3 separate regions of the Homo sapiens genome follow, and regions 2 and 3 are each linked to region 1. The links are contacts of gene promoters, found by promoter capture Hi-C in blood cells and fetal thymus (Javierre and others, 2016). All regions are on one chromosome and are shown on one strand. Each heading gives the region's core, a stretch centred on a gene start or on the middle of the fragment in contact. The rest is flanking DNA. Distances are from core to core; before and after follow the strand shown. Region 1 holds the start of CCDC89 (coiled-coil domain containing 89). Region 2 overlaps SYTL2 (synaptotagmin like 2). Region 3 overlaps SYTL2 (synaptotagmin like 2).

Region 1 (4,653 bases), core at 23-2,522:
GGATATCATCTTTACTCTTGCCATAATGCTAAGACGCAAATATTTGAATTCTGAATTGCAGGCCAGAGGAAGCAGAAACTTCCCTATGGAGAGAGATGGCGGAGTTTGCCATTGAGTTCTCTCTCCTTGCTTAAAAGATCCAAGCTGTGCTTTTTGAAGGCTTCAGACTGCAGCCTGAGTTCATCGTAGGCCTTCTGGATCCCATCTACTTTGCGCTGAAGCTCCCTGACTCTCAAGTTGCTGTCCACAGCCACTGCCTCTTGCTCAAACCGCTCCAGCGCATGCTTCCTGTCTTCATTTGCTATCTCCAACTTTTCCTCAAGCTGGCAGATCTCTGCCTGTTTGTTCTGAAGCACTTTGCCCCTTTCAATGGACAGCTGCAGCAACTCCTCTTTCTCTCTAGTGACGGTCTGCAGCCTGGCCTGCAGCTCCTGGCTCAGGCTGCTGTGTGTCTCCTCTGCCTTAGCTATCTGCTCCACAGCCTGCTGGTGCTGCTGCTTGAGGGTCTGCAGCTGGCTGCGCAGCTGTTCTGTCTCCTTGGTGTGGGTGCAGGCCTGCTGGCTCTGTAGCTCCAGCAGCTCCTTCTCGCGCGCCTGTGCCTGGCAGGCATCCTGAGCACACCTCTCCTTCAGCGTTTCTAGCTCCCCAGTGAGGGCCTCACACCGGACTGTGAGCTGTAATACTTTCGCCTCCTCATCCTTCAGAGCCTGGCTGAAGAGGCTGCTATTCTCCAGCCTCAGCTTCTCATTCTCCTCCCTCAGCTTGATGTTCTCACTCTTGTATTCATCCTTGAAGCGGAGCATCAACTCGTGGTTGGCTGCTAGGGTCATAAAGCGTTCCTCTAGTTTCCGACTGTACTCACCCTGGGCCTTGAGCTTCTCAGCCTCCTGCATCATCTTCTCCTCCAGCTCTGCATTGAGCAGCTCTAGGATCTGGCAGCGCTCCAGGGCCTCATCTGACCTCCGCTTCAGGATGCAGATGAGCTGGGACTGCTCTTCAATGCGGGAGCGAAGCATAGCCTTCTCGCTCCTCTCCTCCTCTGACAGTCCCCGGAGGTTTGCCAAGGCTTCCCTCAGACCGTCCAGTTCCTTAAACTCCGTCTCCTCTTCCTGGTTGTTCAGTTTTTCATTTTGCTTCTCTAAGCGTTCTTCAGGGGGCGGGGTGTCCATCCTGGGAGCCTGCTGTTTCTGGAGCATAGGCGCTCTCATCCACTAAGGGCTGACTACAGTCTTTTCCCCTCAGATTTCAAACGCTGCAGGGTGTTGCTAGGGACTCTTGGCACTCCCCAGCAGTTGGTTTTTCCAGTAAGGAGCCCTGTAATTGGTGGACAGGTCTTCAGAATGCTATGAAGTAACAACAGGGGAATCTGGGGGAGTCCAGAGCCAATCTGGTCGGGTTACTTTTGCCTTTCTAACCAATCACAGCTCTCAGTTGTCAACTGTCTCAGTGTCTGGCCTGTACAGCACAGAGATGCCAACCCCACTCAATCTCCAGCCAGCATCAGGGGAGGAAGCCTGACTCCACCTAATTTCTGGTAGTAGTAAACAAATGAAGCAGGCAATGATATATTTATCCTCCCTCTCCCCTCTTCAGTTATCGTTTGAATAAATTACTGTTTGTGGAAACATGGTTGGCTCCTCAAAAAATTTCAGTCTATGAATACAAAGTAGTAGTGGTATTCTGAGAGCCAGGACCCTAAAAGCCTGCATATCTGCACCCGTGATGTTTGGCACAGCTCCCTTTTGGTATTTAAGTATTAAAATAGAAAACACCAGTGAAATTTCTTTTGTTGTTCTTAGCATTGTCCCCACCTGGGCATAAATACTCTTTATTAGATATTTAACACCCCCTGTTTTTACCCATTAGCAAAATAAGGTTACAGAAAGAAGCTTAGTGAACCACACAGATAAACATTAAAACAGAAAAAATAAGATTCAAATGAAGCTTGCCATTATATGCCAAAGTCAACTCCTGATAGATTAGTTAAATGTAAACAGAAACTAGAAGAAAATGAAGGTAAACATCAAATCTCTGGGGCTAGGAAGGATTTTTTTTTTATCTTAAACATTATGTAAGATCAGAAAGGGAAAGCTTACTCAAAAAGTTATGTATAATTTTTTAAATTATGTGACTTCTGAGGTCTCTCCAGCCCCTTCTTCCACTGGATTTTCTTGACATTTTACTCCTCAAACCCAAATATTGAAGCCAAACCCAAATCCACTAACCAGCTCTCTCGCCCTATCTTTAGGTGTTCCTCTACTTGGAATGCCTTTCCTACTTTGTCCCTTGTCACTCTAGTAAAGCTTTTTATTCTTAGTTAAGAATCGTCTCTGAAGCCTATTCCTGGCCCCTACATGTCCAATTGGTCACTCACATCTTTTAGTGCATCCGCTATAGCTATTTGTACTTCTGGTGGAGGATGTGAAAATTTTATTGCAGTCACTGTTTATCTGCCAGCTTCCCTCTGTTAGACTGTAAGATCCTTAAGGGCAGGGACTGTGTCTATTTCATCCTTGATGATTAGACTAGTGCCTGGCACATGGGGGAGATTCAGATAAATGTGTATTAAGTGGATGTTGAAGGTAAAAATCAAATTGAGAAAAATATCCCTAATATGACAGACACTACTTTTTTTTTTTTTTTTTTTTTTTTTTTGAGACAGAGTCTCCCTCCATCGCCCAGGCTGGAGTGCAGTGGTACGATCTCGATTCACTGCAACCTCCGCCTCCCGGGCTCAAGCAATTCTCCTGCCTCAGTCTCCTGAGTAGCTGGGATTACAATTACATACAACCACACCTGGCTAATTTTTGTATTTTTAGTAGAGACGGAGTTTAACCATGTTGGTCAAGCTGGTCTTGAACTCCTGACCTTAAATGATCCACCCGCCTCAGCCTCCCAAAGTGCTGAGATTACAGGCATGAGCCATCGCACCCAGCCCAGACACTACCTTTTTTAAATAAATATTTTATACATATCAACGAAACATTAACATCTAAAAAATAAACAATTAAATTCACAAAAATGGCCAAGAACTGAACGTCTACAGTGATCCAATAAATACAAGTTAAAATTAGACATAATTTCGGCCGGGTGTGGTGGCTCACGCCTGTAATCCCAGCACTTTGGGAGGCCGAGGCAGGCGGATCACGAGGTCAGGACATTGAGACCATCCTGGCTAACACGGTGAAACTCCGTCTCTACCAAAAAAATACAAAAAATTAGCCAGGCGTGGTGGCAGGCGCCTGTAGTCCCAGCTACTCAGGAGGCTGAGGCAGGACAATGGCGTGAACCCGGGAGGCGGAGCTTGCAGTGAGCCGAGATCGCGCCACTGCACTCCAGCCTGGGCAACAAAGCGAGACTCCGTCTCAAAAAAAAAAAAAAAAAAAAAAAGATATAATTTCACGTATCAAATTAGTCAAAAAATTTTCTCTTAAGACAAGCCAGGACTAGAAAGGAGTATTGAAATAGGCACTCTCTTAAACTGTTGGTGAAAGTCAGTTGACAGTAGGTACTGAGAAATTAAGATATTTTTATGGCTTCCGAACTAGTAATTCTTCTGCGGAGATCTTTGCTTAGGAAATAATCTGAAAGAAAACATTTTGCTCAAAACTTTTCATTGTAGTGTGGTTTGTAACAACTAAAAGTTGGAAACCCAAGTTTTCAAAAAAAAAAGGGAATGGTTACAAAAATTATGATATATTCATACAAAAAATATTGTACAGCCACTAGAACTTATTACATTTATAGGTAATTTTTAATAGCATGGAAAAGTCTTATGTTAGAAATACAACTGAAAAAGGCAAAATACAAAACTTAAAATTCAGATGATTTCAATCCTGTGAAAATTAAGGGTAGGGAAAAGAGTTGACTATTCTTGTGGTCACAGTTTCTGGTGATCAGATTTACTATCTCCCAAGTCATGATGATAAGGAAAAACCCTGGGTGTCATTATAGATATGAGATGAATTTTTAAATGCTTCAGATTTCACTGGGAGCGAAACAAATCTGAAAGAAGAGTTTCAGGTTCTTCCCTCACTGTCAAAGATCAAGGTCTCATGTTTCAAATCCTGAATTTCTTGTCTATATATGGAAACCAAGATTGAAGACTGGGGAAATTTCCTAAGCTGAAATTTTAACAACTACATAAACAGTAGGATATTGAAGTTTTGTGAAAGTGAATTCCAAAGACTTTAAAAATGTGAATTAAACTTATTTGTAATTTTCCCACATTTCTCTTGTCCTTTTCCTTAAATTTCAAGCTTCATATGCGTAAATGGAGTTCGTCTAGTTATTTTCAAGGCAAATGACTAGAAAATTAGAATGGTCCTCTTAAATAAAAGGGTCTTACAAACATTGAAAATTTTATTTGTTGATTATATGGTTGTCTGATATCATAAAGTGAATTCACAAAATATATTTCCTGAAAGGAGGAAAAGAATTCAGAAAAATACGGAAAAAAGATACATACACATTTGTTTTTTTACCAGTCAGGGTCTCTGTTGCCCAAGCTGGAGTGCAGTAGTGTCATCATAGCTCACTGCAGTCTTGAATTCCTGGGCTCAAGCAATCTTCCTGCCTCAGCCTCCCAAGCAGCTAGGACTACAGGCATGTACCACCATGTTCAGCTAAATTTTCCACATTTGAAAAAGCTTA
Region 2 (4,449 bases), core at 1,141-3,640, 72 kb after region 1:
GAGGCTTTCTCCTCGTAAGCTGACTATCTAGAGGGGCAGAATTGCAGACCATAAATAACACCTCCTGAGCAGAAGGAATCAAAGGTACTTGCACCTCTCCAAAATGCAGGGGCCCACATCCTGAGGTAGAAAGAGAGACTCAGTGCAGTCCCAGCTCTACTGCTTTCTAAGTCCTTCCCCCAATCTTTTCTTTTGGGAGGGTAAAGGAAATACCATTTCCCCTTATGCTTAAAGAATCAATATTTTCTCTATGCTCCCCCACCTCCTGCCCTTACTCCTCAATGGTTGCAATAGTCCCTGCTTTGCCAAATGTCAGGGTTGCTGTGAAGAACATAAGAGGATAACATTCATAAAAGGGCTTTATAAACTGTCAATGGGTAGAGGATTAATGCTACCAAGAGGCTCTAATGCCTGGGTTAGTGACAATCCTTCACCTCTCCTGGGGACACTGTTTAAGGCACACCATTTGCGGAGAAGGCACAGCAGAGCCCCATCCAGGTGTGCATTGCAAGGGACCTTTGAGGAACAGCATGATCCCCACTACCTACAGCCACTGCTTGTCATCATAGCTCAGTGTCCTACTTCACACCATGACAGCCAGCCCCTTCCTCCATTGCCAGGTCCTGGGATGGCCTGTCTGTTATTGTTTTCTCAGGGAGAGGAGGTGGAGTTAACAAATGAGTACCTAAGACTGGGATTTGATTCTCACTTCTGACACCTACCAGTTGTGTGATATTGGGCGAGTCACCTGACTTGTCTCAAAGTCAACTTCCTGACACATCAAATGGGGTAATTATATCCCACTCCACCCACCAACCGCAAAAGAGTATGTGAGCTCATAAAAAATAATGGGCATGTTAAGCCCTTTGCAACTTGTTAAATACTGTCTATATAGAAGTTATTTTAGTAGTCATAATCAGACATTCTGTAGTGGTTGAAGTGAATTCTAGCATGTTCTTTTATAAATCATCCACGTTAAATCAGTGTCAAGATACGGAAATGGTAAAAATAAAGCCATTATTCATGGTCCTGTGTCCCAGGAAGTAAGAACATATCTTATGCTCCTTTTGGATAACTCCTGGAGCGAGAATCATAAAATTAATAATACTAACTTACATTCAGGAAGCCTGTCGCTGCCTTCAAAGCCCAAGATTACACAGGCAGTAAATGGCAGGGCCTGGACAAAGTCAAGTTCTTCAGCATCCTGGCCTAGTGCTTGTTTGACAACAAAGGTGAATGAAAGTGGCAGGAATGTTGACATGGAACATTTGGGTTCCACCCAACAAGAATAGTGTATCAAAGTTGCCACTCCTCTTTATGGGACCCAAGACAAATGAAAAATTGGCTCAGAGAATACTTTCAGTTGCCATTAAAACCAATTCCAACATTTCTGAAAGCATGCAGAAATGTGAGCTAGTTTAATTTATTTTCTTTTCAAAATTCTAAAAATTTTTTAAAATTCTAATTTGGTTCATGATTCAGTTAAAAAAAAGTAGATCCAGTTTTTTTAAGTGGATAGAAATACACACACACACACAAATGTAGATGTATGTGGTTGTATACATTTCATTTTTATCTCAGTATTTAATAAGTTAAAGGAATTTAGTTAGGTTTTTAATCAAGACCCTATTTCTGGTAGGAGTCCAGTAGGATAAATTAAGAGGCACCAAGAGGAAAAATGTTTTGTCCAGGAAGTAAACCTAAAATTGGAATCCATAAATTCAGTCTTCGAGTCAGAACTACCACTTATAGTTGAAAAAAACCCCAGTGTCCTATTTTCGTACAGACTGCCTCTTCCTTCCCTCATGCCCAAGGCTTCTCTGGCCTCTTACCTGACTCTCTCTTCTTCGGCCCTCTTCAGAGCAGCATCCCGCTGCAAAACCTTCATGATGGCCTCTTGTTCCTCTTCAGTCAGGAAGCTTAAGTCAATCATTTTGAAAAGTGCATGCAAAAATAATAGCAACAAATGTGGCTCAAAATTCTCAGGGCTGAACAACTAAGACTGCAACCAGGAAGATTAAAACACACAAAAATGAAATATCTTGTTCAGTTCTGCATCAAAGTCTTATTTTGGCTCAGCAAAAGTTTAGGGCAGCTGATAGCAAGATCCTAAGTGCTCTTTCCCATGAGGAAGTCCTGGTCTGTGGGATAGTGTCGAGAAGAGGCTCTCAGAAGGATGCTGTATTCCTTGCCAAACAGGTCGCTTGTTCCTATGGTGGCTTCCAGCACACTCACTCTCTGGTCCAGTCTTAGACACAGTTTATTCTCTCTCTGCACCTGTCGTCAATTCATAAGAGGCAGCAGCATCAGAGCATCACCTACCTGGGGAATCATGAGACAGCAAACACCAGACAGTGAGAGGCAGTTCCTATAAGCACTACTCATTACTACAAGATTTTTAAATGGCCATGCGAGATGGTCTCTGAGATCAAGGAAACCAGTTCAGCCAGCTTCCTGAGCAAATGGTAAATGGGTCATGAAACATGCTTCAACCCTATTCCAGACGGCCAAGATGGAGAACCCACAAAAATGCCTGTCAGTGTTTAACGATCCACCTGAGTAAAGGATGGTTGCAAAAATGAACTGGTTCTCTCTCTGCAAACTCTGGGGATGCTAGGCTAAAAAGTCATGTTAAAGGTCAGTAAGATCAGGGATATGTGATTCCAGTGGTCAAGCAAGAATCTAGAAATAAAAATTTTAAATGCTCACCTCTTCACAAGTAAGAATATTCCACTGTACTATATATGTGCTCCATATTAACAGGAGAACTAGTATTAGATAGAGATAGTTTGCAGAAGAGTGAGAATTGTTATTCTTCATCCAGTCTCACTGCTAACCTTTGCTGGACCTAGAGGAACCTAACAAGCTTGTCTACTTTCATTTCTCAGGGGAAAAACACCTACCTGTGTGTGTATATAAACTGGAGGAAAGGAAGAGGCAGAGTTTCAAAACACCTCACCATCCAAAGTGAGGATTTTTCAGTTGCACAATGTGCAAGAATCCTATTTTCTTTGAGGCATCTTCAATACATATGTAATGGGAAGGAAGTGAGAAGTGAAGAATGACACAGCCCTACAGAAATTCGGAGGTGATCCACTCAAGGTTGGGGCACTTTTAACAAGTGCAGTGCTGAACATACACACTAAAAACCTTTAGTAAATTTTAAAGCAGGCTGGGTGCAGTGGTTCATGCCTGTAATCCTAGCACTTTGGGAGGCCAAGGTGGGTGGATCACCTGAGGTCAGGAGTTCGAGACCAGCCTGACCAACATGGTGAAACCCCGTCTCTACTAAAAAATACAAAAATTAGCTGGGTGTGGTGACACACGCCTGTAATCCCAGCTACTCAGGAGGCTGAGGCAGGAGAATCTCTTGAACCCGGGAGGCGGAGGTTGCAGTGAGCCGGGATCACACCACTGCACTCCAGCCTGGGTGACAGAGTGAGACTCCTTATCAAAAAAAAAAAAAAAGAAAGAAAAAAAAATTTTAAAGCAGCCCCACTTAAGAATAAAACAGTATGTACATTAGTGAATAAAATTTATAAAAATTAATTACTTGAAAAACAGAATTACTGGGAAGTTATCCTTCTACCACTTACTAGCTATAAGTCATTGGGCAAGTTACCGACCACTGTGAAGCTGTTTTCTCATTTGTGCTTGACATTAGGATGTCCCTCACAGATTGTAAGGATTAAATGAAATAATGAATATAAAAAGAGCACATGTCTTGCATTCTGTACCAAAAATAGCTACTAAAACTATATTCTAGCTTCCGCTCTGAGTTCACACTTTTTTTCCATCCAGCTGAATAAGACTATACTTAGTAATATATTTCTCTTTTGTATTATGTCTCTTTCTGATCTCCCCCCATGAAGTTTGGGCTTCATTGACAGGGAATCTAATGACCTTTGTTTTAATTTCCTCTAGCTCTCTGCATACTGTCCACAGTAATTACTCAAATAAATATTAAGACATTACTTCATTTTCTTTTTAATTTGCATGTGCTTGCATATGCTACTACCTGCTTGTTCATCTTGAAAACTACTTACCCTTCAAGACAAATCAAAGTTACCACCTCCATGAAGCCTTCCATAACTTCCATACCCCAAGTTAAAGTTGCAGCAGATTCAATGATTATTCCTAACTCTTCATTTCCTCCCTGTAACAGAACTATACTATCATGTTCCCACCAGAGTAAGCAAAGAATTCATCCCTATCCTCCTAATGTTGGGCTTGGCCTGTGACTCGCTTTGGCCAATGGAATGTTAGCAAATGTGATGCAAGCATAGGCTGTAAATGTGCTTTTGTGGTTTGATCTGGCTTCTTGTATTCCTGCCACATGCCATGAGAAGAGCTTGTCCCAGTTATTCATTGCCTCTTCATCCTGGGTTCCAGAAAGAGATAAAAGGACAGACCTGAACCTGACCTCCCTGAAGCAGGTATCCCTGCTGA
Region 3 (4,394 bases), core at 879-3,378, 120 kb after region 1:
TGAGGACATAAAGAATGATAACACACAGTGGTATGTGATGATGGCCATAAAAGAGGTATAAGCCGAACACTAAACCAGTTAGAGGAGGGAAAGAAAACTTCCTGCCATGATGAACCAGGAAGATTTCAGGAAGAATTAGCATAGAGCTGCAGTTTTAAGAACAGCTAGGATTTCAGAGTTAGAAACAGGGTTAGGAAGAGCTCAACAAAAGGGACTAAAAGTCCATAAAAAGCATCCAATCTCCTTAATAACATGTACTACACTCTTCATGATCAGCCCACTACCTACTTCACTGGCCTCAGCTCCTGCCAGCCTTACCTTGAACATGAAACCATGCTTGCCATGCTATTTCCCAGCCTTTTGACCTTCTGATTCTTATTCACCCAGATCGCCTCTCAAATGCCACCTCTTCCAGGAAGCCCTACCTTGGCACTTGATCTCCCTTCCCTCTTACCACCCCACCTCCTTCCTCTGTGCTCACATCTGACTATGAACATCACACTGAGTGGTAATTACAGATATCTATTTTCCCCACTGGACTCTGAGCCTAAAACAATTTGGCACACAAACATAGAAAACACTCAGTGAGTATCTATCAAATAAATTAACTCTTGCCTCTAAATCTGATATTCTTCCCACTACAGCATGCTGACCCTTTTATCAACAAATGTTCACTGTTTAATAATAGTTTAAAGAGAATAGCAAGAGATTTTCTGTAAAGATCAATCATACCATACTTAAGTATTAAACTAAGCTCACACCCTTGGTCACTGCATCTACAGGTAGTGATGCACACAAACACACCCTCAAGGACCTAACCATTCCCACACACAGTTCATCAGTTTTGGTGCTTTGGTCTCAAAGTAAAGAGACCAAACCAGAATCTATCAAAGGACTAGACTGAGACTTGACTAACACAGTGAAAGGGCTTGGGGATTGGCACATGAAAGAGTCCAGGTTCAAAGGTCTAGTATTCCAAAACCCCAATGTAGGATGTCTCCAAGAGTTTCCTGGGTTTCTGCCGCCCAGGCTGGAGTTCAGCAGCACAATCATGGCTCACTGCACCCTTGATATCCCAGGCTCAAGTGATCCTCCCACTTCAGCCTCCTGAGTAGCTGGGACTACAGGTGTGCACCAACATGCCCTGCTAATTTTTTTCTATTTTTCTGTAGAGATGGGGTCTTGCTATGTTGCTCAGGCTGGTCTCAAACTCCTGGGTTCAAGCAATCCTCCCACCTCAGCCTCCCAAACTGCTGAGATTACAGGAATGAGCCACTATGCCTGGCCCCCAGGAATTTAAAAGGTACAACTTACTCCCTATGCACTGAATGTCAGCCCAAGACTTGCTTTTAGTTCCTGGCTGCTGAGAGAGTGGACTTGGAAAAAGTATGCCAGAGAAGGAAAAAAACAAACACATCCACTCCCTCCTCACTTCCTCACACACCAAGCAAATACCTGTGCTCAGTTCCACAACAGGGTCACATCTGTCCCCTGCAGAATCTGACCGGTAGAGCCACGTCTCCTCCACACCCTTGGCTCCTGGCCACACATTATTAATAGTTCAAGTGCAGATGCAGGTGACTGTCTTCACATTGAGGCACCTCTAGTAACCAAGGCTAATCTCCCCAGTGGCTTTCCCCAAGGAACCCAGGTAATGTCGGGTTTTCCCTCCAGCATAGATAAAGCAGGCAACTATCCGGAAAACATAAACACAGGGCTAGAAACACAGAAACACACATCTGTGTGTACCTGGGTCTGATCCTGACTGCTTAGGGAGAAGGGCCACCTAGCTTCTTGCCATTTCCCATAGATGATAGTTTTGTAGTCTGAGCCTCTCTGCTCCTCCCTCTAAGAAACTCAACAGCTGCTAACCACAATAGTGCATGCTAAGCACAAGAAATTCTACAAAGCACTAACCAAATTCAGCATGCATTAGGTATCTACTATCCCTAGAACCTTAAACTCAATTTTGGAAATACAAAAAGGGGCCTTAAACTTTTTTTTTCTGGATTCAAGCTTCAATCATTTTGCCAGAAACACACCTGGTCCTTTGTTGAAAAGTGGTAAACATGCTTAACTCAAGGTAAGACATATTTATATTTTTGGAACAATTTGGCTCCAATGTGATCCAGTCCATAAATTAGCATATGGAGTCACCATTTTCCAACACATTATGTACTCTCCTATAGAAGTCTTGAATAGCAGCACCATCTCTACAAGTACCATTACCTTTTACCAAAAAAGCTTTAATATATGTTATCTCCTCTGTACACACAAGTGCAAACAAGTATGCCAATCAACCCCAAACCCATCTTTCATACTGTGAGCAGTGTTATTATCCTAAAGAGAAATTTCATTATCTCACTTACAATATTGAGAAACTTCAAAGATAAAGGGCAGCCTCCAAGATAAAGGGTCAGATTGTAGCCTCATTTCACCTTTGGTCTTTGGTGAAACTCCACTACATTAGCAGCGCCACCAACCATAATTTACCTGTCCTGTGTGCCAACTCAGTAGTCTCTTCCCCGTTCTTTTTTTTTTTTTTTTCAGATGGAGTCTTACACTGTCGCTGGAGTGCAATGGCGCGATCTCGGCTCACTGCAAACTCCACCTCCCAGGTTCAAGCGATACTCCTGCCTCAGCCTCCAGAGTAGCTGGGATTACAGGCACCCACCACCATGCCCGGCTAAGTTTTTGTATTTTTAGTAGAGATGGGGTTTTACTATGTTAGCCAGGCTGGTCTTGAACTCATGACCTTGTGATCCACACGCCTCAGGCTCCCAAAGTGCTGGGAATACAGGCATGGGCCACCGTGCCTGGCCTCCCCATTCTCCTGGTATCCCTTCTCTCCCTGCCTCCATGGCTTTGAACTTGAAACATCCTTCAACGTTTCCTCCCCACCACACTCTCTTTTCTTCTTTTTCTTTTCTTTTTTTTTTTTTTTTTGTGAGCCGGAGCCTTGCTCTGTCACCCAGGCTGGAGTGCAGTGGCATGATCTCAGCTCACTGCAACCTCTGCCTCCCAGGTTCAAGCAATTCTCCTGCCTCAGCCTCCCAAGTAGCTGGAATTACAGGTGCCCACCACCAGGCCCAGCCTCCCAAAGTGCTAGGATTACAGGCATGAGCCAATGCACCCAGCCCTCAGTCTCTTCTTAACCTAGCAAACTCCTACTCAGCCATAGGTCTAGCTTATCTGTCACCTTCCTACTTTCCCTGGCAGTTGCTCTCTCAGCAATCTCACAATAAGCTGTATGCATTTCTAACTAGAACACTTACCACACTGTACTGTAAGTACTACTTCACCATTGTCACCTTCAATAGCCAAGAGGAAGGGAAGGAAAGAGAAGGAAAGAGAGGAAAGAAAGAGAAGGGAAGAGAGAAAGGAAAGGAAGAAAAGGAAAATGAATAGAACTGACATTTATTGAATAGTGACTCTATGCAAGACACAAAGTCAGAGGCTTTAATATATTTATTACCCCATCTTGTGAGAAAATGAATGCAATTTTTGCAGAAAAGGAAGTTGAGAGTCCTATCCCAAAGAAACTCAAAAGCTGCTAACCACAGTTAAATTAGTTGCTTTATAACACAACTAGTAAGTGCATTCATGTTTAAATTCAAGCTTATCTTATTCCAAAGCCAAGTTTATTTCCACTACAAAGTGGCCTCTATGGGAAACATGGACACTAGCCAGAAACATCTTCTTAACCATGACCCCTCTCCCATCACCTTGTTGGCCACTATGCTTCATAACTCTGGCTTCTGACCTTCCACCTATGATTGCACCTCAAAATCATCTGCTATAACCATCAGATGGCAAGGTGTTGCTAGGAATCTGGCAAGAACACAGTGAATACATTTGCAGAAAGGTAGTATGATACTATTTCAAAAAGGTTCAAGAATGCATATTATAAAACTGTAAAAATGTGTCATATCTAAGTGGTCCTGCTAGGACAACTCATATAAAAATTCTTTATCTTTATAAAATCCTCATATCATGCACAACATGAAAATCAACTTCATTTCTACTCAAGTTCTTCAGTATATTCCCTCTCACTTATCAAGTTGTGATGCCCCAAAATAAACTGTAATTAAGGTCTTCTTGCCAGTTCTCCATAGTATTTCAGTTGCTCTAGTCCTGGGTGGTGCTGCTTCATAACTGCAGGAATAAGTGGCTGACTCCTTAGGCCATGGAGCGCTGGGAGAACCCAGTTGTTTTTCCTGGAAGATTATGTTAAGCCCATCATTACATCTCTATGGTAACAGAAATATCCTAGGTTTTCTGGAACAGTCCTAGTTTTGAATATTTATAATCTGTTTCAAGACTAGTGACAAACATATGTCTTAACACAGGATTCAGTAAGCATGAATATAACATCTTTCCTTTAGAGAACTCCC

Evidence for each region. Contacts are between HindIII fragments. The CHiCAGO score rates a contact against its expected background, and 5 or more counts as called.
Region 2: a contact is called between a fragment that was not itself captured here and the fragment with the promoter of CCDC89 in region 1, in 2 of 17 cell types (naive CD4 T cells and total CD8 T cells). The highest score is 6.1, in naive CD4 T cells.
Region 3: a contact is called between a fragment that was not itself captured here and the fragment with the promoter of CCDC89 in region 1, in 6 of 17 cell types (total CD8 T cells, naive CD4 T cells, non-activated CD4 T cells and 3 more). The highest score is 9.9, in total CD8 T cells.

What each region holds. Positions count from the first base shown.
Region 1 is chr11:85,684,923-85,689,575 of GRCh38, forward strand. It overlaps CCDC89 (coiled-coil domain containing 89), which reads right to left and starts at 1,273. Exons shown (of 1, transcript NM_152723.3): 1 at 1-1,273. The coding sequence starts at 1,208. The coding sequence ends at 84. RefSeq lists enhancers at 68-569, 570-1,069. The HindIII fragment of the contact is 2,434 bases long and covers 1-1,887 here.
Region 2 is chr11:85,755,793-85,760,241 of GRCh38, forward strand. It overlaps SYTL2 (synaptotagmin like 2), which reads right to left. Exons shown (of 20, transcript NM_206927.4): 2 at 1,833-2,322. The coding sequence starts at 1,933. Among named protein-coding and RNA genes, the nearest start is that of SYTL2, 53 kb to the right of the region's middle. The HindIII fragment of the contact is 947 bases long and covers 1,918-2,864 here.
Region 3 is chr11:85,799,292-85,803,685 of GRCh38, forward strand. The region is part of intron 1 of SYTL2 (synaptotagmin like 2); the gene reads right to left. Among named protein-coding and RNA genes, the nearest start is that of SYTL2, 9.7 kb to the right of the region's middle. The HindIII fragment of the contact is 228 bases long and covers 2,015-2,242 here.